Regions from separate parts of the Homo sapiens genome. Here all the other regions are linked to region 1. Evidence: promoter capture Hi-C in 16 types of primary human blood cells and fetal thymus (Javierre and others, 2016). All regions are on one chromosome and are shown on one strand. Each heading gives the region's core, a stretch centred on a gene start or on the middle of the fragment in contact. The rest is flanking DNA. Distances are from core to core; before and after follow the strand shown.

Region 1 (2,700 bases), core at 1-2,500:
ACCCCCAAAACATCGTAGTAAGTTGTTTCTTTCACCATCTTCTACTGCCTGAAATAAGAAAATGCAACTTTAACCGGCTTTCAACTGGTAGCTTTTAATAAAAAAGAGAGCTAAGGCCGAGCAATCTCTTTGCAAAATCCGATTATAAGAACACCACCTTCCCTAAATTTCACCAAAAAGGTAACAATTCCTGCGATAATTCAGCTATAAACTCGAACAGACAAAACAAATAATCATTATCGGGAAATAATCTGAGAGCCGCCTTCTAGCAGCTGGTTCCAATTTTCCTACACCAAAGCTTCCATACTAATATAACACAACTATTATCTGGATTCTTCCCGTTTGCCCTAGAGGCGGTGACAGTTGTAACCAAAAGAAGCACTGATATGTTCAGTCTACCGGTCATTACACTATCACTGTCTTTGGCAAATCTGATAAACTCCATATACTCTCCAGAAAAAGACGTCTGGGCACACAGTGGTGGGGGGGAGTGGTTTATAGAACAGGTTACTGGCTCCACACAGCAAGCCCTCCACCGCCCACGGCTTACAGCTTCTCCAGCCGAATCCCTCTCGCCCCTCAGGCTGGCAGAGTTTACCTGCCAGGTTTCCCCTTGCACTTGGCGCTGACCGATTTCCTTCCTTTCTCCCTCCCACCCTGGACCCAAGTGGCGGTGGGGAAAGCCCAGCCCTCAACAAACAAAGGGAGGGGAAACAGAGAAAGCGAAACCAAAAGCCGCAGTCTCCGCCCGGCTCCCCCCGCAGCCCCTCGCCCCTGCCTCCCTGTGCGCGTGCGCAGGGTCGCCAACCCCACTCCCCCCCCCCACCCCGAGCGAGCACGGACGGGGAGGGGGGCCGCGGGGGCGCGCACGGAGGGGCAGCCGAAGACAGTAGCTCCTTGGAGATCCCAGGCTGGGGAAGGAGGGAGGTCTAGGAAAGGTCTCGGGCCCATTCACTGTGCGTGCCGGGGATGGGTTGCCAGGGCACCACACCAGCCCTCCAAAAGGGAAATCGTGGGCCCAGGAACTGACAGCGGTCCTACCCACGCGGCCAACTGCCTCCCGACCGCGGCTCCATCGGTTTCCCGGCGCCAATGGCGCCAGCCAGGGGACTAGGGGCAGCGCGAGGGCTCAAACTCACCGGTGCGGGCTGAGGCCGGTGTGTGAGGGAGCGGGAAGGAGCGCCGAGCTGTGCGCAGCCGGGGTAGTTACCGCTCCTCCGCCTCTCACCGAGCGTTCTGGAAAGTTCCGCCCGGCGCGCCGCAGCCGTCCTCTTTTGTAGCCGAACCCGGGCGCGTCACCCGCCGGAAGTCCCGCCCTTCTCGGCCGCTGCCACCGCCCCGCCGTTACCTGGGCAACGGCGCGGGGGCGCACGGGTCGGGAGGAGCTGCGCCGAAAGGCCTTGTGGGTGTTGGTGCTAGCGCGGCTTCCCGGCGCTCGTGGAATCTTCTGGAGCCCTTTTCTCCACTCAGCGAGCCTGAGAGTGCGGAAGTCTCCGGCTGGTGGGGCATGGCCCAGGAGCACTGCAAGTCCTAGGGTTCCCAAACCTGTGGGGTGGCCGCCTGGGCCCGCGAGGGCGGGAAGGGCTCGAGTACAGTGACCCAGCGGGAGCTGTGTGTGAACGGGAAAGCTCTTGGAACAGTCTTGCCCCCCCCCCCCCCCCTCTTACGGGCGCCTCTTCTCTTTTTGGGAACGTGGCGAGCAAAAAATGCTTGAGCCAGGTGGGTCTAGTCCCCAGACCAATAGCATAGGCCTTGGGTCTTGCTGTTTTTCACGCGTGGTCCAAGGCGGCATAATTAATCAAATTGTGAAGTTGTTAAGGCTTTTTGTGCAAGTCCAGGCCCCTAGACACATGTTATCTGCCCTGGACCTCGCTGATTCGTGCAGATTGAGCTCAGTGTGTCTGGGACTGAGCTAAACAGTGAGACGTTTGGACCGTCTTTGATGTACAGAGGGCCGTGGACTCCTCTGGTCAGGTTTTCACCCAGTTTGGCTACAGAGTAGCCGCAAGAGTGTCTGACTAAAACAATTTGTTTAATTATTTGACCTCACTTTTAAATCCTACGGGTCAGGGAACCTGGATGTACAATCTGCAACGTAAGACCTCGGACTTGAAAATGGTACCACGGGGGCTTAATGGGAATTGGGGTCCGCTTCTTTATCCAGGGACACAGCAGGTATGTCAGTATCTAGCACCAAGAAAGATGGAGTTTGCCACGCTCGGTGGCTCACGTGTGTAATCCCAGCACTTTGGGACGCCAGCGTGGGCTGATTGCGTGAGCTCAGAAGTTTGATACCAGCCCAAGCAACATGGTGAAACCCCGTCTCGATTTAAAACAAAAACAGAACTGGAGATGCAGAGTTGAAAAGCCCCAGTTAGACTTTAGTGAGAAGCCAAACAAGTCAACAGACTGCCAGAGAAACCATGAGGTAGAAGTCAGTAGGGGAGAGCCTCCTATATTAACCTGATAGATCAGAGAGAATTTCTTTGGGAAAGTGGCAATTGAGCTGAGTTTTGAAAATGGGAGGAGAGCAGTGGACAAAGCACAGGGGAAGGCTATACTAAGGTGTGGAAGAATATGATGTTTTTAGGAAATTGCAACTAATTGGATATAGCCATAGCTAAGGGAGCTAGAATAGCCGGAGGTGAGGCTTCAAAGCTAGTTAGGGCATGCCTTTGTCTGTTGGTATATATGCTACGC
Region 2 (2,700 bases), core at 147-2,646, 6.1 Mb after region 1:
TTAAGATGGGGTAAGAGGGGAGATTAAAGTATGATGGACTAGGCCAGAACTGGCATATATCACATCCACCCAGATTCCACTGACCATTACTCAGTAATGTGACATCATGTGACTGCCCAATGCAAGGGGACTAGATAATGTAGTCTCTGGCTAGACAACTACAGCTGTATCTAATGGAAGAAGAGCATGATTCTTCGGAGGATGGATAGCTGTCTCCGCCACTGAAGGCCTTGTTGAGAACATGACATTTGTGTAAAGTTGTTAAAGAGGGAAAGGAGCAAATACTGCCAATATCTGTGTGAAGAGCATCATAGGCAGAATAAACAGCTAATACAAAGGCTCTGTGGCTGAAGTTGGGAGATGAGGGGACAGGGGGAATAGTAGAAAGTAAGGTCATGTAGGATAGTGTGGACAATTTATATTTGGTCTTGTACACTACTCAAGAGTTTAGGCTTTTACCAAGTGAGATGAAAAGCATTGATGGGTTTCAAGCAGAAGAGTGTCAGGACCTACTTAAACTTTTGAAAAAATTCCTGAAGTTGCTGGGTGGAATATACACTGTCGGGGGCCAAGAGTACAGGAAAGAGGCCGTTGAATCAACCCAACTGAGAAATGATGGTGGCTTGGACCAAGGGATGATGATGGAGATATTAAGGAGACAGTTTTCTAGATATATTTTAAAGAATGAGCTGATAGCAGTAGCTGAAGGGGGTGCTGAGAAGTAGCCGAAGGAGCGATGGGGTTGAGAGAAAGGTATCAGGCTTTTCTACTTTTCAGTTTGAGCCACTGGATTAATGGAGAGCCATTTACGGAATGAAATGTGTTAGGAAGATATATTCACTAATAAAACTTGTTTTATTTTTGATGGGCCAGTTGCTTCCTAGTAGAATCACGTTTTGTTAACCTTCCTTTGATTAATAATATTTCCTTTTAACTGTTATTTTCTTTTGGCCACATTTTTAAATCTTTTATTTGATACAATTTTATTTTGAAACAAAATCCATATTCTCTTATGTGTAAATTTTAATGTTAAGAATTTTCTATTTAAATGTTTTTCAATTTTACATTGCCATTCTACCTTTGATTCTTAAAATTTTTATTTTAAGGTACTAGAGAAGGACAGACTCGTCTAATCAGAGATGGGGAGAAAGTCGAAGCCTATCAGTGGAGTGTTAGTGAAGGGAGGTGGATAAAAATTGGTGATGTTGTTGGCTCATCTGGTGCTAATCAGCAAACATCTGGAAAAGTTTTATATGAAGGGAAAGTATGTCGACTTCTACTTTCTAATTACTATTGTCTTAAATATTAGGCAAATTAAAGGTTTCCTTTGCCCCATAGTGATAAAATTTCCTTTGTTTTGACATTTAAAAATCCATTACTGTGGGAAACTAATCTTTTTTTTCCCTGTCTTGAAATAGATATTTTAAAAGTATCTTTCCATGTAGTGAGAGCTGCATTTGAGAGACAAATTAGCAATTGTCTGTCATGTAGTAGTTTCTATACAAAAGCTGTTCCCAGCCATTTTGGATTGGGAGCTTCTGTGCCACCTTTCATCAAATGCCTCATGCCTGGCTATATTTAACTTGACAAGACATGAGAGACCCTGCAGGGCAGTGCTTAAAATGCCAGCACGTTTTGGTGAGTAGGGCACAGTAACAGCTGATAATTTTGATCTTGATATCAAACCAGTTGGAAACTCTGCTTTGGCTCTAGAGTTAATATGTAGTTGTAATCCATCCTTCATCCTCACCCCCATCCCCTAATGAAATACTAATTTTGCATCACATGCAGATGGGGGCTGTTAATCTTTATCTGCCAAAAACGAAGATTTTAGCACTGCACTTTGGAGAAAGTTTAAGTACTGTAATTATTAAAGAACACATCTGTGTTATGTTGTATATGTCATTAATATATGTGAACAGATAATAAGCATGTATCTCCTTTTTATATTCCTACTTTAGGAATTTGATTATGTTTTCTCAATTGATGTCAATGAAGGTGGACCATCATATAAATTGCCATATAATACCAGTGATGACCCTTGGTTAACTGCATACAACTTCTTACAGAAGAATGATTTGAATCCTATGTTTCTGGATCAAGTAGCTAAATTTATTATTGATAACACAAAAGGTCAAATGTTGGGACTTGGGAATCCCAGCTTTTCAGATCCATTTACAGGTAAGTTAGTGTTTATATTGAGTCTTATGTAGTTCCATTAGTGTTGATTGATTTTTTTGATGTTTTCAAATAGTCATGTGATTAGCTTTTTCAATAAATACCAATATCTACAGCAGGGTTTTACTTCACATTCATATGTTTAAGCCTCAAATGATGAAGTAATTCTGTATTTTACAGAAATAATAGTAAATTGTTGTCTTTCAAAAATACAATCATACTATAATGGAATTTCAGTTATTTGAAACAAAAATAAACTTGTAAGTTCTTTTATATAGTGTTTCTTTTAAAAAATTATATTTTGGCAAAATTTAGTAAATCTTTTTTTCACATGAGGCTAAATTGGTCAGTCATGCATCAAATCTAAAAGTGAACCCTATGGGTAGTTTTAGTTTATATGTGATGTGTATTCTACACGTTCATTTTAAGTTAATTGTTTGTAACATCGTATACATCGTATCTCATGTTATAAATGCAGTTAGGTGCTCATACCAGTCTGTAAATTGTAATCCTAATGGTACT
Region 3 (2,700 bases), core at 132-2,631, 5.4 Mb after region 1:
ATGGAGAAAGTGCTTGAGAATTAGATCCTAATGTCATTTCCCATGCAGCATCTTCATTCTTTTCTAAAGCACTATTTGGTAAAAACAACTGATAGTCGTCAGAGGTGATCAGCAATGTTTGAGCACTATTTCCTTTTTATATCCTGCACATGGAATATGGACAGGCAAACAAATCATTTCCAAGTAAGAAAATAAATTTTGAGGGAGTTAATACTATAATTTGAAAGTAATAACCTCCTATTTATCCATCTAGTTTGTTGTTCTGTACTAAATTATTTGTGCATGTCTCTGTGTCTATAATTTATGTGAAACTTTGCACAATCTTAAATAGGACAAAATAGACATTCTGTAATTTCCCAGGCAAGCTATTTAAGGTGACTATCTCTCTACATATTTGAGATGAAAAACAATAACATGACAATCCATCCCTTCTTAGGTTTTTGTAAGCAGACTTACTACCTGTGACTCAGTTTTGTTCTCACAGGGTACTAATTAATCCTTCACGATAATAACTTGTCAAATTCCATTACTTCTGTAAAGGCAATACTTTATATTTGTTTGTATTCAAATTTTAAACTGATGTTAAATGCCGTGGGTGCAACTGCAGGTTAAAAATATGTGTTTGAATCTCTTATTCTTTTTGCTTGGCAATGTATGAAATAACTGCTCTTTCTAGAAATCTTGATGATGAAGTGGCCTGTTGTTTTGTCACCTAAAAATGCAATAATGTTCAAATTAAGCTTTTCTTTATTAACATCACTTGATTGTGTGCCATATTTAGAGCTTAGTGAAATTTTAATCTACACATTGATTAAATACATTTTATTTATTCTTGTTTCTAATGGGAACTTTCTTTGTTTCTAATGGGAACTTTCTTAAATTAAATTACATCCAACATTTATTAAAGACCTAAAACATAGGCAATTACTGTGCTTAGAGGAAAAGCGCAGACGAAAGTGAATCAGACAAGTTCCCTGCCCTCCGGAAGCTTTCAGTCTAGTGATGAGAAAGACGTATACACACCTTATGTTGATTTAAAAAAAAAAAAAGCTCTTACCTGGTTGCTGGCATATGAAAGTGTTAGTTACAGATCTGCCCCAAACTAAAGGTGTCACCTCGAGTAAATCTCTTTCCCTTTCCCTTTCAATCTCTTCATCTATAAACTAGGGGTTGGGAATACATTTATTAACAAACACAAATTGAGCGTCTACCATGTGATAATAGTAGCTAAACTTACTGAGCAATTACCATGGGGCAGGTATCAAGATAAACCCTTTATGATGGTAACCTCATTTAATCCTCAAAGCAATTCCATTTTCAAGAGGAGGAAATTGAGGCTCAAAAATGTTAAGTAACTCCCCCAAGGATGCAAAGTGATTGAGCCAGAATTCAAGACTAGGTTGGTTTGACTCCAAAACTCATGCCATTAAACCCTATTGTGTCACTGCAAACAACTCTAATAGTTTCAAATTATTAGTTCTATTAATATTATATTACCATTATTTGCCCCCAAAATGTAAAATGTAAATACAAAGAGTTTGGTTTTTGTATTACTAGTGGAGGTTAAAGGTGCACAATGGAATTATTCAAACTGGGAAAATCCAGGAAGACTTCATGGAGGAGGCAGCATATGGCTGCAGTTAATAAGGTTTGCTCACACAAAATGGAGAGGTGAGGACATTTCAGGCAGAGAGAATTATATGAGAGGTTACAGAGCAGTAAACAGTCATGCGTCTGCAAGATCAAAGGGAAAGGGCGGTAAGAGAGAAGCTTGAAAGTCAAGTGGAGCCAGATTGTGGAAAAACTAGAGAGTCATGCCAAGGACCTTGACATATAGAAAATGGGAAGCCCCTGAAAGGTGAAGAACATGAGAGTGAAATGATTAGTAACTTTTTGGTTTAGGACTTGTTTCTTTTGTGTTTTGGTTGCTTTCTTGTTTTGTTTTGTTTGTGGTTTTTAAATTTACAACCAATAAGAATATTTAGTAAGGTTTCCAAATACATCATGAATATATAAAACTAGCCTGACTCAAGGATAATAATTCTGGGTAGTTGGAGTGAAGTTTCAATCAGCTACGTGGCATTTGCTAATCATCTGATATGAGCTAACAATAAAGGAGTTAACAAATAAACTGTCAGCCTACAGTCCAGGGTCTCAAATAGCATGTGACATAGTTGAGAAGCAGTTTTCCATATCATACATGAAATAACTAAAGAAACTACTTACAAAGCACTATACCAGTAACTACAATAAAATACAACTATACATGCAAAATAATGCTGAAAGCTGCAAGTAGAGGGGTAAAGCTAGGCCAGTTGCTCAGGGAACCATTCTGAAGTGGATTTGGGAAGTATGTCTAGAAGGGGAGCCATTGCTGTGAGAGTGCTGAGGCTCATCTGCTACTAGTCCCCCACTACTCAGGCATATGGTAGGTCAGTAACAAAACCATCATTGTGCACTGTTCTTTCCATCTAAATTCCATCAAATTATGACCAACCTATCAAGGTACTAGTTCAAATTCTCTCTTCCTCTATAAGCTAGTGGTCTTCTCTAAAATTTAAGAAGATCGTGCTCATCTTCCTACTTCTTGTTCTCTTTCTTCTGTGTTTTCTGAGGCTGCAATGAACTAGGAACTTCCTCTCCCCAGAACTCTGTATTCCAGGCCTTAGATCACTCAAAACTGTTGCTTATAAAGTGCAG
Region 4 (2,700 bases), core at 139-2,638, 5.5 Mb after region 1:
TCAAGCAACTTAATAATATGGGGCTCTGAAAAACTGGTTAAGGTTACTCCAAAAATGGCCCTGGGTCTGACAAAGATTCTAACTTAAAGATGCTTATGAAGACTTTGAGTAAAATCATTTCATAAAATAAGTGAGGAAAAACAACTAGTATTAAATTCATCTTAAATAATGTATGATTTAAAAAATATGTTTAGCTAAAAATGCATAGTCATTTGACAATTTCATTTATATCTCAAAAAATTTACTTAACCAAGTTGGTCACAAAACTGATGAGACTGGTGGTGGTAGTGAATAAATGAGGGACCATCCATATTTGAGACACTTTACATTTGTGATGTGTTATACTGAATTTTCAGTTTGATTCTATAGACTACAAATTTCAAAATTACAATTTCAAGATGTAATAAGTAGTAATATCTTGAAATAGCTCTAAAGGGAATTTTTCTGTTTTATTGATTCTTAAAATATATGTGCTGATTTTGATTTGCATTTGGGTAGATTATACTTTTATGAGTATGGAGGTTAGGTATTGATTCAAGTTTTCCTTACCTATTTGGTAAGGATTTCAAAGTCTTTTTGTGCTTGGTTTTCCTCATTTTTAAATATGAAATATATTGATGACCTTTAACAAATTTTTTTTATCTCAAATTTTAAAGGAGATCTTTTCTAAAAGAGGCATGATGACTTAATCATTGCATGTAACAGTAAACGATAAACCAATGATTCCATACTCTCTAAAGAATAAAAGTGAGCTTTAGGGCCGGGCATGGTCAGAAATTTGACACCAACCTGGCCAACATGGCGAAACCCCGTCTCTACTAAAAATACAAAAATCAGCCGGGCATGGTGGCGGCACCTATAGTCCCAGCTACTTGGGAGGATGAGACAGGAGAGTCACTTGAACCTGGGAGGAGAGGTTGCAGTGAGCTGAGATCACGCCATTGCACTCCAGCCTGAGCAATGAAAGCAAAACTCCATCTCAAAAAAAAAAAAAGAAAAGAAAGAATAAAAGTGAGCTTTGGATTGCATATAAATCCTTTAGACATGTAGTAGACTTGTTTGATACTGTGTTTGAACAAATTACGAAGTATTTTCATCAAAGAATGTTATTGTTTGATGTTATTTTTATTTTTTATTGCCCAGCTTCTCTCATATTACGTGATTTTCTTCACTTCATGTCACTTTATTGTGCAGGGTCAGAGTATTATTCCAATGCTTACTGGAGAAGTGATTCCTGTAATGGAACTGCTTTCATCTATGAAATCACACAGTGTTCCTGAAGAAATAGATGTAAGTTTAAATGAGAGCAATTATACACTTTATGAGTTTTTTGGGGTTATAGTATTATTATGTATATTATTAATATTCTAATTTTAATAGTAAGGACTTTGTCATACATACTATTCACATACAGTATTAGCCACTTTAGCAAATAAGCACACACAAAATCCTGGATTTTATGGCAAAACAGAGGCATTTTTGATCAGTGATGACAAAATTAAATTCATTTTGTTTATTTCATTACTTTTATAATTCCTAAAAGTGGGAGGATCCCAGCTCTTATAGGAGCAATTAATATTTAATGTAGTGTCTTTTGAAACAAAACTGTGTGCCAAAGTAGTAACCATTAATGGAAGTTTACTTGTAGTCACAAATTTAGTTTCCTTAATCATTTGTTGAGGACGTTTTGAATCACACACTATGAGTGTTAAGAGATACCTTTAGGAAACTATTCTTGTTGTTTTCTGATTTTGTCATTTAGGTTAGTCTCCTGATTCTGACAGCTCAGAAGAGGAAGTTGTTCTTGTAAAAATTGTTTAACCTGCTTGACCAGCTTTCACATTTGTTCTTCTGAAGTTTATGGTAGTGCACAGAGATTGTTTTTTGGGGAGTCTTGATTCTCGGAAATGAAGGCAGTGTGTTATATTGAATCCAGACTTCCGAAAACTTGTATATTAAAAGTGTTATTTCAACACTATGTTACAGCCAGACTAATTTTTTTATTTTTTGATGCATTTTAGATAGCTGATACAGTACTCAATGATGATGATATTGGTGACAGCTGTCATGAAGGCTTTCTTCTCAAGTAAGAATTTTTCTTTTCATAAAAGCTGGATGAAGCAGATACCATCTTATGCTCACCTATGACAAGATTTGGAAGAAAGAAAATAACAGACTGTCTACTTAGATTGTTCTAGGGACATTACGTATTTGAACTGTTGCTTAAATTTGTGTTATTTTTCACTCATTATATTTCTATATATATTTGGTGTTATTCCATTTGCTATTTAAAGAAACCGAGTTTCCATCCCAGACAAGAAATCATGGCCCCTTGCTTGATTCTGGTTTCTTGTTTTACTTCTCATTAAAGCTAACAGAATCCTTTCATATTAAGTTGTACTGTAGATGAACTTAAGTTATTTAGGCGTAGAACAAAATTATTCATATTTATACTGATCTTTTTCCATCCAGCAGTGGAGTTTAGTACTTAAGAGTTTGTGCCCTTAAACCAGACTCCCTGGATTAATGCTGTGTACCCGTGGGCAAGGTGCCTGAATTCTCTATACACCTATTTCCTCATCTGTAAAATGGCAATAATAGTAATAGTACCTAATGTGTAGGGTTGTTATAAGCATTGAGTAAGATAAATAATATAAAGCACTTAGAACAGTGCCTGGAACATAAAAACACTTAATAATA

The links. The method cuts DNA at HindIII sites, captures the fragments that hold promoters and counts their contacts. A CHiCAGO score of 5 or more calls a contact.
Region 2: a contact is called between a fragment that was not itself captured here and the fragment with the promoter of DNAJA1 in region 1, in 1 of 17 cell types (total CD4 T cells). The highest score is 6.6, in total CD4 T cells.
Region 3: a fragment that was not itself captured here is called in contact with the fragment with the promoter of DNAJA1 in region 1 in 2 of 17 cell types (M0 macrophages and naive B cells); the score reaches 13.2 in M0 macrophages.
Region 4: a contact is called between a fragment that was not itself captured here and the fragment with the promoter of DNAJA1 in region 1, in 1 of 17 cell types (M0 macrophages). The highest score is 6.2, in M0 macrophages.

Annotation. Positions count from the first base shown.
Region 1 is chr9:33,023,823-33,026,522 of GRCh38, reverse strand. It overlaps DNAJA1 (DnaJ heat shock protein family (Hsp40) member A1), which reads right to left and starts at 1,250. Exons shown (of 9, transcript NM_001539.4): 1 at 1,140-1,250; 2 at 1-48. The coding sequence starts at 38. It also overlaps a transcript of APTX not described here. RefSeq lists enhancers at 600-669, 626-1,220, 1,198-1,492, 1,815-2,410 and silencers at 770-909, 1,190-1,339. The HindIII fragment of the contact is 3,848 bases long and covers 301-2,700 here.
Region 2 is chr9:26,918,791-26,921,490 of GRCh38, reverse strand. PLAA (phospholipase A2 activating protein) reads left to right here. Exons shown (of 14, transcript NM_001031689.3): 8 at 1,107-1,264; 9 at 1,962-2,181. Among named protein-coding and RNA genes, the nearest start is that of PLAA, 27 kb to the left of the region's middle. The HindIII fragment of the contact is 4,870 bases long and covers 1-2,700 here.
Region 3 is chr9:27,581,927-27,584,626 of GRCh38, reverse strand. No RefSeq gene overlaps it. Among named protein-coding and RNA genes, the nearest start is that of C9orf72, 9.8 kb to the right of the region's middle. The HindIII fragment of the contact is 782 bases long and covers 991-1,772 here.
Region 4 is chr9:27,560,971-27,563,670 of GRCh38, reverse strand. C9orf72 (C9orf72-SMCR8 complex subunit) reads left to right here. Exons shown (of 11, transcript NM_018325.5): 4 at 1,195-1,290; 5 at 2,022-2,086. Among named protein-coding and RNA genes, the nearest start is that of C9orf72, 11 kb to the left of the region's middle. The HindIII fragment of the contact is 8,318 bases long and covers 1-2,700 here.